Linked DNA regions of Homo sapiens: region 1 is linked to region 2. Evidence: promoter capture Hi-C in 16 types of primary human blood cells and fetal thymus (Javierre and others, 2016). All regions are on one chromosome and are shown on one strand. The core of a region is centred on a gene start or on the middle of the fragment in contact, and the rest is flanking DNA. Distances in the headings are between cores, read along the strand shown. Region 1 holds the start of MAST1 (microtubule associated serine/threonine kinase 1). Region 2 holds the start of ZNF564 (zinc finger protein 564).

Region 1 (7,773 bases), core at 834-3,333, 290 kb after region 2:
GACTGGTCCTCATTCACTCCGGTCATGCAAAGACAGAGGGAAAACCTGGTTTGGATTATCGGTCACCCGTGGCTCGGGAGGGCAGGGCTGCCCTTTGGCCCCGCCTATATGTTTGTCCGTTGTACAACGGGGTGGGAGGACGCTGTGGCCCATCCTCTGTCATGCAGCATGTCCCTCCTTAATAACGCCTGTTCTCCAGACTTAGTATTTATTGAGCACTTGCTATGTGCTAGGCACCATGCTAAGGGGCTAGGCATCTGCATCAACTCCTAAGATCCTCAAGGAGACACGGGACTATTGGAAGGTCATTTGCCAAGGTCATAAAAAGCAGAATTGAGATTTGAACCTAGGCTTTTTGCTTTTAGAGATCCTAGAAATGTCTAGGACATCCCTCATTTTCCTTTTGTTGGAGTCCCCTCCAAAGGCCTTTTGAAACTCTCCCCCAAATCTTTCCACCTGCAGCCCCACTCAGTTTCCTTCCTTCCACCTCACCCTGTGGATAGAAAACTGGCTGGCAGGTGTTGCCCCTTGTACCCCATTCCTTTCCTCAGAAAAAAGCCAAGACCCCATATCTCCTGATCCCTACAGTGACTTCCTAAGAGCTTGACAAATGGAAGGTGACCTTCTTCAAATGCAGACACATAAAGTTAATACTCACTAATTATTATTATTGTCATTATAAAAAATGACTATGCGGCCATCACCTGAATTTCCATTTTTATTTTTTTATTTTTTAAACTTTTTATTATTTATTTATTTATTGTTAATTGAGAGGGTGTCTTACTCCAGCAGTGGTGCAATCATAGTTCACTATAACCTCGACCTCCTGAGCTCAAGAGATTCTCCCACCTCAGCCTCCGTGGTTCCCATTTTAAATCTCAGTTGTGAGTCACTCTACTTACCTACCCCCCACCCCCTACCCCAACTCTATGACTCTAGCTGGGAGTCAGATAGATCTGCTGAGGTGTAGATGAGTCATTCATTCTTTCAACCTTTCATTCATTCAACCTTTCATTCATTCATTGAGTACGCTAAGCTTATTCCCGCCTCCAGGCCTTTGCCCTTGCAGTTCCCTCCACCTGGAATGCTCTCTCCACAGATCCTCCCATGGCTGGCTCTTATCTTTCAGCAACCAGCTTAAAAGTCACCTCCACAGAGCAGCCCTGTCTGACAATGTGTCTCCATCCTAGCCATTGTCCATCACATCACCCTGTTTAATTTATTCATAAGACTAATTATTGTCTAAAATGATTTCGTTCACTTCTACACTAATCTTGTTTAATGTCCCCTTTACCCTATAAATACTAGTCCCAAAAGGCCAGAAACTTTTTTTTTTTTCTCCTTGAGACAGAGAGTCTTGCTGTGTTGCCCACGCTGGTGTTTCCTTGGACTCAAGCGATTCTCCTGCCTCAACCTCCCAAGTAGCTGGGACTAGAGGTGCACACCACCACACCGGACTTGTAATTTATTCACTACTGTGTCCCTAGTGCCTAGGATTGGGTCAGCATACAGTAGGTGCTCAAGACATATTTTTCAAATAATGATTCCTATTTCATTTGCACAAACACACGCTGATATGCCAACTCACTTGCCTTTATATGGCGCCCCGCCTGTGTACGTGGGCCTCTGTTGGTCTCTGAGGGTCAGGAGAGGAATCACCCAGGGATCCTCTCCCCCAAGAAACTTGGCCCGCAGTGCATGGCCAAGGGTGAAAGTGACAGTGCTGAAGAGGGGCCTGTCTTACCCTGCTTCTGCTCCTCCAGGGAGTTGATAATGCTTGTGGGCAGCAACGGCAGGTCCACGCTGACCTTCATCGTTTTGCCCCTTTGCCTTCCAGAAGGATTTGCCCCTGCCCCGGAAAAGCAGCAGGTGAGCCTGGGGAGAGACGTGGCGGGGGCTGGCCGCCCCTTCTCCCGCCGGGGTGGGGGCGCCAGGCGAGTGCGCGGGCGGGGCCTGGCTCGCCGGCACGCAGCAGCGCCCCCTCCCGGCCGGCTGCAGCCGCAGGGCCCTCCCCTTCCCTGCCCTCCCCTGCCCGCTGCGGCGGCTGCAGCCTCCGCCCCGCGCGCTTGCTCCCCGCGCCGCCGCCGCCGCCGCCTCCGCCGCTGCTGCCGCACCTGCCACCATGTCGCCGCCGCCGGGTCATGTCTGACTCTCTCTGGACCGCGCTTTCTAATTTCTCGATGCCCTCCTTCCCCGGCGGCAGTATGTTCCGCCGCACCAAGAGGTAGACCCCCGATCCCCTAGACATTGTCCCGGCCCTCCCCGCAAAAGCCGCCGCTCCGGGTACTGCTGCAGGGCGGGGCCCGGGATGCTGCGCCCGGTCCAGCTGCGCCAGAGGTGCCCCAGCTGCGCCTTCCCGCCGGGGTTGGGGTTGAATGGGGGGTGGTGTGGGCCGAGTCTGGGGGGCTTGCACGCTGGAGAGGACGGCCGCGGGGGGAGGGGGCTGCGCCACTGGGGGTTTGTGGCGCCTTTGTCTGCTGGCGCTGCGGGCTCCAACAGCCTGGTGGGGGTAGAGGAAGAAGGGGAGGCTGGGGGGCTTGGCACCCTCAGAACAATAGCCGCAGCCTGGCCTCCCCCCACCCCCATGCCGCGTGCTCCTGGACGCGCTAATATGCTCAGTCACTGCGGCTGTGGGTGAGGGGACGGACGGAGGGGCTTGGGGCTCCCTCTTCGGGAGCTGGATGCTGAGGGGTAGAAAAAAGGGGGGGTTTATCATAACACAACCCCCCCCCCCGAACACAGCCTTACACTGAAAATAGTGACACACAGCGTCACACAGGACATGATGTCACACACATACACACAACAGCCCTAGTGGCCCAGATACACTGGGAGGTGCCACACATACCTAGCCTTGCAGCTGCCACAGGTCAGAACCATGCACAGACACACAGGGGCACCACGTCGTGTACACCTAGTAAGATGTCACTTACATGGCGATCCACACACACACAGTTATGTCATCCAAGATGCAAACATGTGTTTCAATATCCCATCCATGCATCCAAGAATGTCACAACACACGATGTCATATCTAGGTATCTCACATACTATGTCACACTGACATCAGGATAAACAGATGTAGGGATCTTGCAGAGACAGAACCACGCAAAATCACATGTTATCACATTGCAAGACTCACCTAGAGAATGTCAAATGTGGTGACATGTTTGGACACAGTGTCACAAGATGTTAAATTCACACAATAGATGCTACATACACATGGACAAGCATGGTGAATGTCACACCCAGACGGAAGGACAGTATCGGACACAGACTCAGAATGCCACACAAAGACATAGATACATGTAGGGGGGATCATGCATCCTGGCCAGGCATGGTGGCAGGCACCTGTAGTCCCAGCTACTCAGGAGGGTGAGGTGAGGCGGGAGGATTGCTTGAGCCCAGGAGTTTGAGGCTGCAGTGAGCCACTGCACACTGCACTCCAGCCGGGCGACAGAGCGAGACATTGATTTAAAAGAAAAAAAATAATAATAATACAACCTGCCTGTGTTACAGCACACATTGTTATGGACAAGTGGCATTTCACACTGTGTCACATAGACACACAAATGCTCAAATTGTATCACACAAGATAAACCCACGTTGTGTCACACGTATCACACTAGAATGCATTCAGCGTCACACATTGTTGAATTCATACAGTGGATACCACACGTGGATACCTACAGTGAATGTCACGCATAGACTGAGACACGCTCAGTATCACCAATGGTGTCACCTAGACACAGTGACTATCACACCATGACAGACACTGCCCTACACATAATCCATACTGAGAGTTTCTCACACACATGTCATATGCACATCCCCTGCCGTACACAGTCCTGCCGAGGCCTGCACCACCTTTCTTCGAGAAACCCTCCCAGGGAGCCTCCAAACACACATGGATGGGAGATAGGCGGGGATCTGAGACAGGAGGTCAGCTGGTGGGGCTCAAGAACTCACTGGGCTGCGGCCCGGCCCGGCCCCCCTGCCTTACCTTCCCCGCAGCTGCCGCACCAGTAATCGGAAAAGCCTCATCCTGACCAGCACTTCACCCACGCTACCGAGACCCCACTCCCCGCTGCCAGGTCACCTAGGTGAGGCCAGTGGTAGAGACTTGGTGGGTGCAGACTGGCCTACAGTAGGCGGGGCCTCAGGCGAGGAAGCGTGGTCATGCTACAGAAGGGGCGCAGTTTGAATGGAGGCGAACCAGTTTGGATAAGGGGCGGGGCCATGCTTGTGTGGGTGTGGTCAGTCGCAGAGGGACGGTCATTGGGGGGCGGAGACTCAGGTGGGCGGAGACTCAGGTGGGACGGACAGAAAGGAGGAGTCGTACCTGAGGGGCGGGGCCATCCCAGATGAAGCCAGAATCGTCTTGGAAGGGGCCAGGCTGACTCGGCAACGAAAAAATTTAGAGAGGCGGGGCCACAGGCGAAGGGGCGTGGTCTCCCCATAATAGGCGGGACTAGACTAAAGACAGGACATGCTGCTGTTTGCACGCCGCTTTAGGGAACGAGAGACCTGACAGGATTTGCCCCCTCTTTCTCTCATAGGCAGCAGTCCCCTGGACAGCCCCCGAAACTTCTCCCCCAACACCCCCGCCCACTTCTCGTTTGCCTCCTCCCGAAGGTGAGTCCCTCCCCTCCAGGGCCCCAGAACCCTGGGCAGACCCTCCCCAACCACTGTCTGGGCCGCCATCTGTTCTCCTCCTAATTGCACCCGAGCTGGGGCCTGAGGGGACCAGCGAGTGCCCCAAGGTCTCAGCGGGAAGGAGCGCCTAGCCTTCGGGGCGGGGCCTATAAGAAGGCGGGGTCCAATCGCCGATCTGGAACGGGGAAGGCGGTGGGGCTCCCTTTGCGGCAGGTCGAAAGCGCGTGCGCCCTGGGCGCGGGGTCTTAGTCTCTCCGAGCCTTGCTCTCCTGGCCAGGTGTTTCCATAGCAACAGGACGGGGCAGCCAAGATGACGTGCGCAAGCGCAGATTGCGCGATGCCTATCGAGGGACTCTTGGTCCCCGAGGTGGGGGAGGACGACTAGGGCTGTTTCTCAAGGGGAGGAATCTCAGGTTTCTTTCCAAGGGTCTCTTAGGGTTTCTGGGGTGTCCTTAAATGAATTTTCTATGGGCCTTTGGTGAAACTGGGGGAGGCAGAGAGGTTTCTCTGATGTTTTCTGGAGAAACGTTTCTGGGAGTTTGGGCCTGTCTCTTTTTCTTTGAACTCTATTCATTCTAAAAATGGTGTCTAAACACCTGCTATGTTCTTAGGAGCTGGGCGTATGGGGTCAATGACGTCCTGTCTCTACCCTCTGAGTCGAATAGGGCAGGCAGGCCAGAGAATGGGGATCAGTGCAAAGGCTGATGAAGGCTGTGTTGTGAGAGTCAAAGGAGACTGTGAAGACAGACAGCTCCCTTGGGAAAGTGGGGGAACCGCCTATTGACCATGGAATTTAGCTGAGGGCAATAGAGAGCCAGGACAAGGCTCTGGGATAGGGTCTCACATGTTTATCCGCAAGCGGGGAGGACTGAGCGAGGGGACTGCTGGGAGGAAGAAGGAAGGGAGGAGTCCAATAAATGGGGTGTGTGTGTGTCCTTGTAACTGTGCAAAGTGTGCTGGTGTGTGTGTGTGATTGTCACTGTGTGAGGGATTACGTGCCTATGCAATGGCACGAGTCTGCGAATGTGAACGTGTGAACATGTGTCTGTAGGATTGTAAGTGTCTGTGAATATGTGAGAGGAGCAAGTCAGGTATGTCTCCAGGTGAGCGTGCAATCTGTGTGTGGGTGTAAGCGTGTGTGAGTGTGTGGCTGTGAGATAGTAAACACAGAGTCACAGTGTTTACTGTCTCTCTCTCTCTCTCTCTTTTTTTTTTCTTTTCTTGAGACAGAGTCTCGCTCTGTTGCCCAGGCTGGAGTGCAATGGCGGGATCTCGGCTCACTGCAATTTCCGCCTTCTGGGTTCAAGCGATTCTCCTGCCTCAGCTTCCCAAGTAGCTGGGATTACAGGCGCCTGCCACCACGCCCGGCTAATTTTTGTATTTTTAGTAGAGATGGGGTTTCACCAGGTTGGTCATGCTGGTCTCGAACTTCTGACCTCAGGTGATCCACCCGCCTCGGCCTCCCAAAATGCTAGGATTACAGGCATGAGCCACCGCGCCCGTCCAGTTTACTGTCTCACAGCCACACGCTTACACATGCACATGCTAATGTGTGTTGTGCACTCACATGAGCACGCGCCGATGTGTGTCCCTGTGTGTGTGCATCTGCGTGCGAGTGTGAATGAGTGTGTCGCTGTGTGCAAGTTTCAATGTGTGGTAGTGAGCGTGGGTGTCTGGAACGTGCATCTGTGTGAATGTGGAAGTGTGGAGTATGTTTGGGTGAGTCTGTGTGTCCGAGTGTGAGTACTGAGTGGAAGCACATGTGTCTATAGGTGAGTGCATGTCTGGTCTTGCACGCGTGATTGTGCATTAGTGTGTGAGAGTGTGATATTTGGGTCCATGGATGGGATAGTCAATACGTGTGGGTGTCTGTGTTGAGGAGTCATGTGTGAGTGTGTGTCTTCGTGTGTGTGAAGTGTAAATGTGTGCACTGCCAGTATGTGAGCCTGACCTGATAGTCACACCAACATTAATGGATTTGGCTGCAACAGTGACTGTGTCTGTGTGCACGAGAGCATAAGGACACAATATTCTATGTCAGAACATGTTGGGGGGTGGGACGGGTCTTTTTTCTCTGAGAAGATCCAAGGGTCTCCCTCAGAGCTTTCTCATGGAGAGTGTTCACTTGGGGGAAATTTCTAGAATCTCTCTGGAAAGGCTTCACTGGGTGGGGGCTTTTCCAGTTCTCGGTGTCCACTCTGAATGATAAGAGAGGGGACCGTGGGGAGGAGAGTGGAGACGGATCCTCCCTCCAATTCCCGGTGCCTGCCTGGAAGAGTCCCTCTTTATCCCCTTGATTCTGAGGGCCTTGAGGAATCTTAGAGTGCAGATATATTCCCCCAACCCCCACCCTGGCCCTGGCCAGTGGCTTCACCCACACCCTGAGGAGTTGGGGGACCGCTGGGGCCTTGTGGCCTCTGAGCACCTTGGCTGGGTTCCAGGGCGGACGGACGCCGGTGGTCTCTGGCCTCGCTCCCTTCATCTGGCTATGGCACCAACACGCCCAGTTCCACCGTCTCGGTGAGTGTGGAAAGTAGGTGGGTGGGCCGGTGGGTAAGGAATTCAGGGGCCCTCCAGCCTGAAGACCCACACCCAGGCCAGCAGTCCAGGCTGGGCTTGATGACAGTTTAGGGCCAGGCTCAGTGACTCAAGCCTGTAATCCCAGTACTTTGGGAGGCCAAGACAGAAGGATTGCTTGAGCCTAGGAGTTCAAGACCAGTCTGGGCAACATAGGGAGACCCTTGTCCCTACAAAAAATTAAAAATTATCTGGGCGTGGTGGTGCACACCTGTGGTCCCCACTATTTGGGAGGCTGAGACGGGAGGATCGCTGGAGTCTGGGAGGTATAGGCTACAGTTGAGCTGAGATCGCACTGCAGCATTCCAGTCTGGATGACAGAGTGAGACCCTGTCTCAAAAGAAAAAAGCAAAAAAAGACAGTTTGGGTTTCCCCATTCTTCAAAGGTGTTCACTTGTCCATCTATTAAAGAGTTATGGGTCCGCCCCACTCAGAGCCCAATGCTCTGCCCTCAACACATTTCTGGGAGGGTCCTTCCTACTCATTTCTGACTCACTCATTTACAGCTGGTGACATAAGGCTCTGTGAGTTAAGCCATTT
Region 2 (7,741 bases), core at 2,785-5,284:
TTCTTACCTAACTCCGGATTTCTTGTATTTGAGGATGTCTAGAAACAACTCTCTCAAATCATGGGAGCCCATGGTTTACTGTTATTATCTGAACAATTAACTATTACAACCTCAGACAGGGTATCACCCTCCCAACTATGCCTATGTGTGCATCCCCAGCTTCCCAGTGGTCTGTAGCTTCTCTCAGTATAAAGGACCCCTCCCCTGGTTGGAGTGATAAGGCTGGGATGCCTGCCAAGTTCTACCCAGGAAGAACCAACTGGGACTTCAATGACCTCCCTTTGCAGGCTCTTAGTTGGGAGTCACTCTGAGGCACACTTGGCCTCAGACCTCTGCTTCCTTAGACAAGACTATATTCACTTACTTTTTTTTTTTTTTTTTGAGACTGAGTTTCACTCTTGTTGCTCAGGCTGGAGTGCAGTGGCACGATCTCGGCTCACCGCAACTTCCGCCTGCTGGGTTCAAGCAATTCTCCTGCCTCAGCCTCCCGAGTAGCTGGGATTACAGGCATGCGCCACCATGCCCGGCTAATTTTGTATTTTTAGTAGAAACAGGGTTTCTCCATGTTGGTCAGGCTGGTCTCAAACTCACCTCAGGTGATCCACCCACCTCAGCCTCCCAAAGGGCTGGGATTACAGGCATGAGCCACCACGCCCAGTTTCACTTATTTTTAAGTAAGAAAATATCCTGTGTTTGAAGAATCCAGCAAAATCACTCAAACTTACCATTTATGTATATAGGAGGAAAGGAAACTGTAAGACATTTGTATTCTTTTTTTTTTTTTTTTTGAGACGGAGTCTAGCTCTGTCGCCCAGGCTGGAGTCCAGTGGCACGATCCCGGCTCACTGCAACCTCCGCCTCCCGGGTTCACGTCATTCTCCTGCCTCAGCCACCCAGCAGCTGGGACTACAGGCACACACCGCCACACCCGGCTAATTTTTGTATTTTTAGTAGAGACCGGGTTTCACTGTGTTAGCCAGGATGGTTTCCATCTCCTGACCTTGTGATCCGCACACCTTGGCCTCCCAAAGTGCTGGGATTAAAGGCGTGAGCCACCGTGCCCGGCCAATTTTTTGTATTTTTTAGTAGAGACGGGGTTTCACCATGTTAGCCAGGATGGTCGCGATCTCCTGACCTCGTGATCCACCTGCCTTGGTGCTGGGATAACAGGCGTCAGCCATCGCGGCTGGCAAGACATTTGTATTCTATAGCTTAAACATGAAAAGCACATTTATCTATCCCTTTCAGACAATAGAGACCTCACATTATTGTTACTTCCATGACAACTTCTTTACTAATATTTAATTCACTAATATTTAATATTTCAAAGTCCCATCTGATAGGATTTAGCATTAATCACCAAAGTCCAGATGAAAGGATACAGAACAGTTATCCATTACGACAAAATCTCTACCCTGCAAAGGAGAAGATATTTTAGAGAATCTCTGTATTTCACCAATTAATGTGGAAATGTATTCGTTTCTCTGTAGCCATAATGGAAGACTGAATTTCCCTACTTATCTGAGATTCTTATCCGCAGTAGCATTCTCAAGGCTAAGTTCTGGGATTGATCTGAAATCACCCAAAAGAAGAAAATAGACCTGAGAAACCTACCATACATGTTGCGGAGAGGAAACTACACAAATAAGATTTTTTAACAAATTGAATGTAAGACTAGATAATTGTTTTCCCTCAAATCTACTTTCTGCCTCTTTCTCCCCTTTGTGACCCTCCCTTTGCAAACACTTTATCTTGTCTTTCAAGCACTACTGATAAAATACATTCTACATTTAATGAAAAACAGGATCAAATAAGCAAATAAACCTTTTCAAGGGTTTACAAACCCAGGGAGAGGCAATGCTGACCTGGAATACAGACATTTATCTGATTCCAATGTCAGGTGAGGTCACCCTATCCCCTAGGACATCTCCCAGCCCCACCCTGGCTCACTGAGTGCTCAGTGACCAACCTCCCTGAAGACAGTGAATTGTGCCCTGCTCACTCTGCCCCAAGCGCATTTTAACTTTCAGGTTCTCGCACCATTTCAATGGGGCAGGTTTTCCTTCTCCTTTGAGATAGTTTTCCTCCCTTCACTAGACTAAAAACAATCCAGAGGTCAGGAATCATTTGTGTCTTTTCCTCTCAGTAACAGCCTAAGATTGGGTAACCATCAATGTGTCCCTAAGGAACGGAAACTGGGGTTGAGGAAGAAAAGCTGAGCGTCCCAAAGGGTAAACTTTTCAGAGGAAGGGGATACCGGGAGACTCCTCCCACCTCAGGGCATACAGCTGCTCCCGTGAGAGGCCCCACCCCTACACCTTAAGCTGTCCTCTGGGAGGAGTGACCCAGGGGTTGATAATCACTAGATCCTCCAAGAGAAGTGGCAGCTGTGGGTATCCTGGGTCAGGCCCAGGCAGTTCTGAAAATCAGGACCAGGAAAAGATAGAGGGCCACATCACCTTGTAAAGTTTCCAAAGGGGAAACTCCACCCAAAGACATTCTGATTAGGCGTCGGGGCTTAGGAAAGATAAAAGGAGGGGAAGCACAAAAATTTTTTTACCACGGCCGGGCGCGGTGGCTCACGCCTGTAATCCCAGCACTTTGGGAGGCCGAGGCAGGCGGATCACCTGAGGTCGGGAGTTCGAGACCAGCCTGGCCAACATGGAGAAACCCTGTCTCTACTAAAAATACAAAATTAGCCGGGCATGGTGGCGCATGCCTGTAATCCCAGTTACACGGGAGGCTGAGGCAGGAGAATCGCTTGAACCCAGGAGGTGGAGGTTGCAGTGAGCTGAGATCGCGCCATTGCACTCCAGCCTGGGCAATAAGAGCGAAACTCTGTCTCAAAAAAAAAAAAAAATTTTACCGTAGAGTGTCAGGTTCTTATTCTCCGTTTCCCTCTCAGGTTACAAGTACACAAACAAGAGGCCGGGCGCGGTGGCTCACGTCTGTAATACCAGCATTTTGGGAGGCGGAGGTGAGCGGATCACCTGAGGTCTGGAGTTTGAGACCAACCTGGCCAACATGGAGAAACCCAGTTTCTACCAAAAATACAAAAAGTAGCCGGTCGTGGCGGCGCATGCCTGTAATCCCAGTTACTCAGGAGGCTGAGGCAGGAGAATTGCTTGAACCCGGAAGGCGAAGGTTGCAGTGAGCTGAGATCTTCCCACTGCACTCCAGCCTGGGCGACAGAGCGAAACTCTGTCTGAAAAGAAAAAAAAAACAACAAACAGAAAACAAATCCTTTCAAAAGAGTATGGTGAAAGAAACTATAAACAACTAAAATACTGTGTCTTAAATGTCAAACAAAAAACAGCTGATAATGTTGATTTGGCGAGGGGAGGTCACCTTTGGGAATGCGGGGAAGGAACCGGAAATTTAGGCATTTATTTCCAGCCCCAGAAAAAGCTAGGCTAAAAAAAACGGGAGTCGTAGGTTTGAGATTCTTTTTCCAGTACGTTTGGAAGACTCGGAGGAAGACCAGTCCCCCGGAAAAAAAGACGATGTACTGGGAAGGCCACAGCCCACAGCTCTTCCCATGCACGAACCGCACACCCGAGACGGGATTCCGCCTTATGACCCTCCCGTGTCCCAGTACAAACAATCTGGAGAGAGGCGGGGCTGCGGGCGCGGAGCTGCCCAGACAGGGCTCCGAGGCCGAGGCCGCAGTCGCCGCGCAGGGACGGGACAGGACGCCTGGGGTACTGGCTACGGCCCAACCCACCCTGCGGCCGAGGGGACAGAGGGCCGAGCTGCGCCAGGGAACTCGGGTCCCAGACCCTGGAGTCGCTGCAGGGAGGCCAGGGTGCTTCCACAGCCGGTTCCGGCCGGTTCCCACAAGCCCCTCCCCCAGTCTCCAGGCGCCCGGCCCCGCACACGCACCATTTCCTGGCTTCCAGGGTGTCCCGGGGTCCTGCCTACGGCTCTCTCCGGCCTGTGCAGGTCCCAGCGCGCCAGACGCTGCGGTGGAGCCACCGGGGCCACTGGAGAAGCGGAGACCGGAACCCAAACGCAGCGGACACGAAACAGGAAGACCCCGCGGAGTTGTTGAACATTGCCCCTGTCCCCCTTGCAGAGTTCCTGATTGGATGGTTTGCAGGTTCCCGCCCCAGTGCCCCTGATTGGGTGATGATTCAAGTCCTGCCCCCTTGGTACTGAGTGACAGGAGAAGCAATGCGGTATGTGGCTGAGTAAAGACAGATTGACAGGGTCTTGGCCACTGCCCTTCGCGGGCCGGGCTTCCTCCTTCTGTAACCTTCTGTGCCGGGGAGGATATTTGCATTTAAGCAGAAAGTGTTTCAGGCTCTGCAGAGGTGACACTGGCGTGTTTCTGCACTCAGGGTGCCCTTCCTGCCTTTTCCTCCCGGACACAGAGTCACAAGTGTGCACAGGGAATGACAGACTCGGCGTCCAGTGGAGCCATCCCCTGGCCTCGGAGTAGGAGGCGCGCCCAGGCCAGGCCAGACCACAGTGTAACAGGAGGGAGGAGGGCTTGCTTCTTTCAGGCAAGAAAATTAAAACGGACAAAGAAATAAAAGTATTAAATGTATAGGAAAAACTGGAGTTTTTATGACAGCGATCATCTATAAAGAAACCAAGAGAAGTAAGCAAACATTTGAACTAGCTCAGACAAGCAGCCTGCTTCACCCGCAGTTCACAAGGAAAACCCACAATCATAACGTTAAAAATATTCCCAAGCGCCGGGCGCGGTGGCTCACGCCTGTAATCCCAGAACTTTGGAAGGCCAAGGTGAGAAAATTGCTTAAGGTCAGGAGTTCAAGACCAGCCTAACCAACATGGTGAAACCCCATCTCTACTAAAAATACAAAAATTAGCCAGGCGTGGTGGCAGGTGCCTGTAATCCCAGCAACTCGGGAAGCTGAGGTACGAGAATCGCTTGAACCTGGGAGGGGGAAGTTGCAGTGAGCCGAGATAGCGCCATTGCACTCCAGCCTGGGCGACAGAGCGAGACTAAAAAATGAAATATGAAATGAAATGAAATAATGAAATGAAGAAATGAAATATAAAATAAAATAATCCCAAGCTTGGGACCCAGACTCTAACTGCTGAAATGGAACCCCAGTGTGGATCAGAACCTGGTGATGAGACAGGGACACTTAAGAATTCAACTTTGGGAGCTCAAGGTGCCCTCCAGTCCTCTCCTCACAGTGTGGAAACACTCTTTCCTTCAAAACCTTCATTTGTACCAGCAGGAAACTCTCACCCGGAGTCAATGTAAAGTCGTGACCTAAATAAATTGTCATGTTCCCAAACCTTTTCTCCAGGGGACAATGCAAACAAGTTTTTCACTGAGTCTGACCCTCACAGATTTTCTTCATGTATACAAATTACAGCCTGACTCAGCGACCCCATGAATGCTAAAACCAAAACACTGTCCAGGAAATGGCCCCAGGCGCCAAAGGTACAACCTCAGAAAAGACAGAACCCTCCACCCCCAACCCAACCACATCTGCACATGGGTCTCCTGCTTTTCACAGCTCTGCAGCTTCTCAGAATCCACATTCCTGGCCAGGCGCGGTGGCTCACGCCAGCACTTTGAGAGGCCCAGGCGGGCGGATCACCTGAGGTCAGGAGTTCGAGACCAGCCTGGCCAAATGGTGAAACCTCGTCTATAGTAAAAATACAAAAATTAGCCGGGCGTGGTGGCGCGTGCCTGTAATCCCAGCCACTCGGGAGGCTGAGGCAGGAGAACCGCTTGAACCCGGGAGGCAGAGGTTGCAGTAAGCCCAGACTGCGCCACTGCACTCCAGCCTGGGTGCCAAAACAGTGAGACTCTGCCTCAAAAAAATAATAAAAGTAAAAAATAAAATTAAAATTAAAAAAAGAATCTGCACTCCTGAGCAGCTGGAGGCCACCTGCAAGGGCGGGCAGGCTGCCCAAGAAGCACCCTTTCCCTCTCTTTGCAGGCTCCAGACTGGTCTCAGGCTCTCCTGCCCACTGCAGTTTATTCACTTGCTTCTCACCAACACTGATCCACTTAGGTAAGAAAAAAGACCTTCAATCCCCTTTGCTGTTTGTTTGTTTTTAAGAAACTAGCAGAGTTCCTGCTTTCCTTCTGTGGTTATGTATAAGCTGGAAGACAAAAAATTCTAAAATACTTTATATGGATTTTAAAACTGGCAAGTAATGATTCCTTTGAGAAAACAAAGATATCAGCTATGCTATTATGATTTATACATTGGTTTCCATCCATGCTTCCTGACTCATAACTCCCATAGTCCTTGTTACAGTAAACAGAAACTCTCTCTCTCTGACCTTCTCCTGCCCCCCATTCACCTGTCCACTGCAGAACTCTAATGTGATCGTGGGTCATAAGACTCTCACTCCAAAGAGTGTCCTGTCCTGTACGCTGGGGAAAGGAATGCTACACAGAAGCCAAAAATTATCTGGACAGGGGTTGGATGCAGTGGTTCACGCCTGTAATCCCAGCACTTTGGGAGGCTGCGGAGGGAGGATTGCTCGAGCCCAGGAATTCAAGACCAGCCTGGGAAAGATGTCGAGACCCCATCTCTATGAAAAATAAATAAAAAGGCCGGACGCGGTGGCTCATGCCTATAATCCCAGCACTTCAGGAGGCTGAGGTGGGCGGATCATGAGGTCAAGAGATCGAGACCCTCCTGGCCAACATGGTGAAACCCCCGTCTCTACTAAAAATACAAAAATTAGCTGGGCGTGGTGGCGCGTGCCTGTAGTCCCAGCTACTTGTAGTCCCAGCTACTTGGGAGGCTGAGCCAGGAGAATCACTTGAACCCAGGAGGCAGAGGTTGCAGTGAGCCGAGATCACTACTGCACTGCAGCCTGGCCGACAGAGTGAGACTCCGTCTCAGAAAAAAATATTTTTCTTTTTATGTATTATTATTATTATTTTGAGACGGAGTCTTGCTCTGTCGCCAGGCTGGAGTGCAGTGGCGAGATCTCAAGTTGCTCACTGCAACTTCCGACTCCTAGGGTTCAAGCGATTCTCCTGCCCCAGCCTCCTGAGTAGCTGGGATTACAAGTGTGTGCCACTAAGCCTGGCTAATTTTTGTATTTTTAGTAGAGATGGGGTTTCACCATATTGGCCAGACTGGTCCTGAGCTCCTGACATCAAGAGATCCACCCGCCTCCGCCTCCCAAAGTGATGGGATTACAGGCAAGAGCCACTGTGCCCAGCCTAATAATTTTTTGTCTCCTTTCTTTAAAACTGTTTTAGGTGTGGCGTCACATGGCGTGGCAGCACATGGTGTGGTGGTACATGCCTGTAATCCCAGCTACTCAGGAGGCTGAGGCAGGAGAATCATTGAACCCACCAGGCAGAGGTTGCAGTGAGCCGAGATCTTGCCACTGCACTTCAGCCTGGGTGACAGAGCAAGACCCTGTCGAAAGAAAGAAAGAAAGAGAGGGAGGGAGGGAGGGGGAGAGAGAGAGAAAGAAAAAGAAAGAAAGAGAGAGGAGAGGAGAGAAAAGAAAGAGAGAAAGAGGGAGGGCCGGGTGCAGTGCGGTGGCTCACGCCTGTAATCCCAGCACTTTGGGAGGCCGGGGTGGGTGGATTGCCTGAGCTCGGGAGTTCGAGACCAGCCTGGCCAACATGGCGAAATCCCGTCTCTACTAAAAATACAAAAAATTAGCTGGGCGTGGTGGCGGGCGCCTGTACTCCCAGCTACTCGGGAGGCTGAGGCACGAGAATCACTTGAACCTGGGAGGTGGAGGTTGCAGTGAGTCAAGATCGTGCCACTGCACT

The links. The method cuts DNA at HindIII sites, captures the fragments that hold promoters and counts their contacts. A CHiCAGO score of 5 or more calls a contact.
Region 1: the fragment with the promoter of MAST1 here is called in contact with the fragment with the promoter of ZNF564 in region 2 in 2 of 17 cell types (neutrophils and total CD8 T cells); the score reaches 6.3 in neutrophils.

The regions. Positions count from the first base shown.
Region 1 is chr19:12,836,432-12,844,204 of GRCh38, forward strand. MAST1 (microtubule associated serine/threonine kinase 1) reads left to right here and starts at 2,084. Exons shown (of 26, transcript NM_014975.3): 1 at 2,084-2,224; 2 at 4,015-4,103; 3 at 4,560-4,635; 4 at 7,098-7,176. The coding sequence starts at 2,142. RefSeq lists silencers at 1,697-1,880, 1,885-2,064, 2,115-2,164 and an enhancer at 4,071-4,130. The HindIII fragment of the contact is 9,607 bases long and covers 1,035-7,773 here.
Region 2 is chr19:12,547,448-12,555,188 of GRCh38, forward strand. ZNF564 (zinc finger protein 564) reads right to left here and starts at 4,035. Exons shown (of 4, transcript NM_144976.4): 1 at 3,883-4,035. The coding sequence starts at 3,885. LINC02926 (long intergenic non-protein coding RNA 2926) reads left to right here and starts at 4,279. Exons shown (of 2, transcript NR_187485.1): 1 at 4,279-5,422; 2 at 5,928-6,197. RefSeq lists enhancers at 2,672-3,174, 3,833-3,942, 4,008-4,302, 5,086-5,587, 5,588-6,087 and a silencer at 3,523-3,602. The HindIII fragment of the contact is 25,081 bases long and covers 1-5,042 here.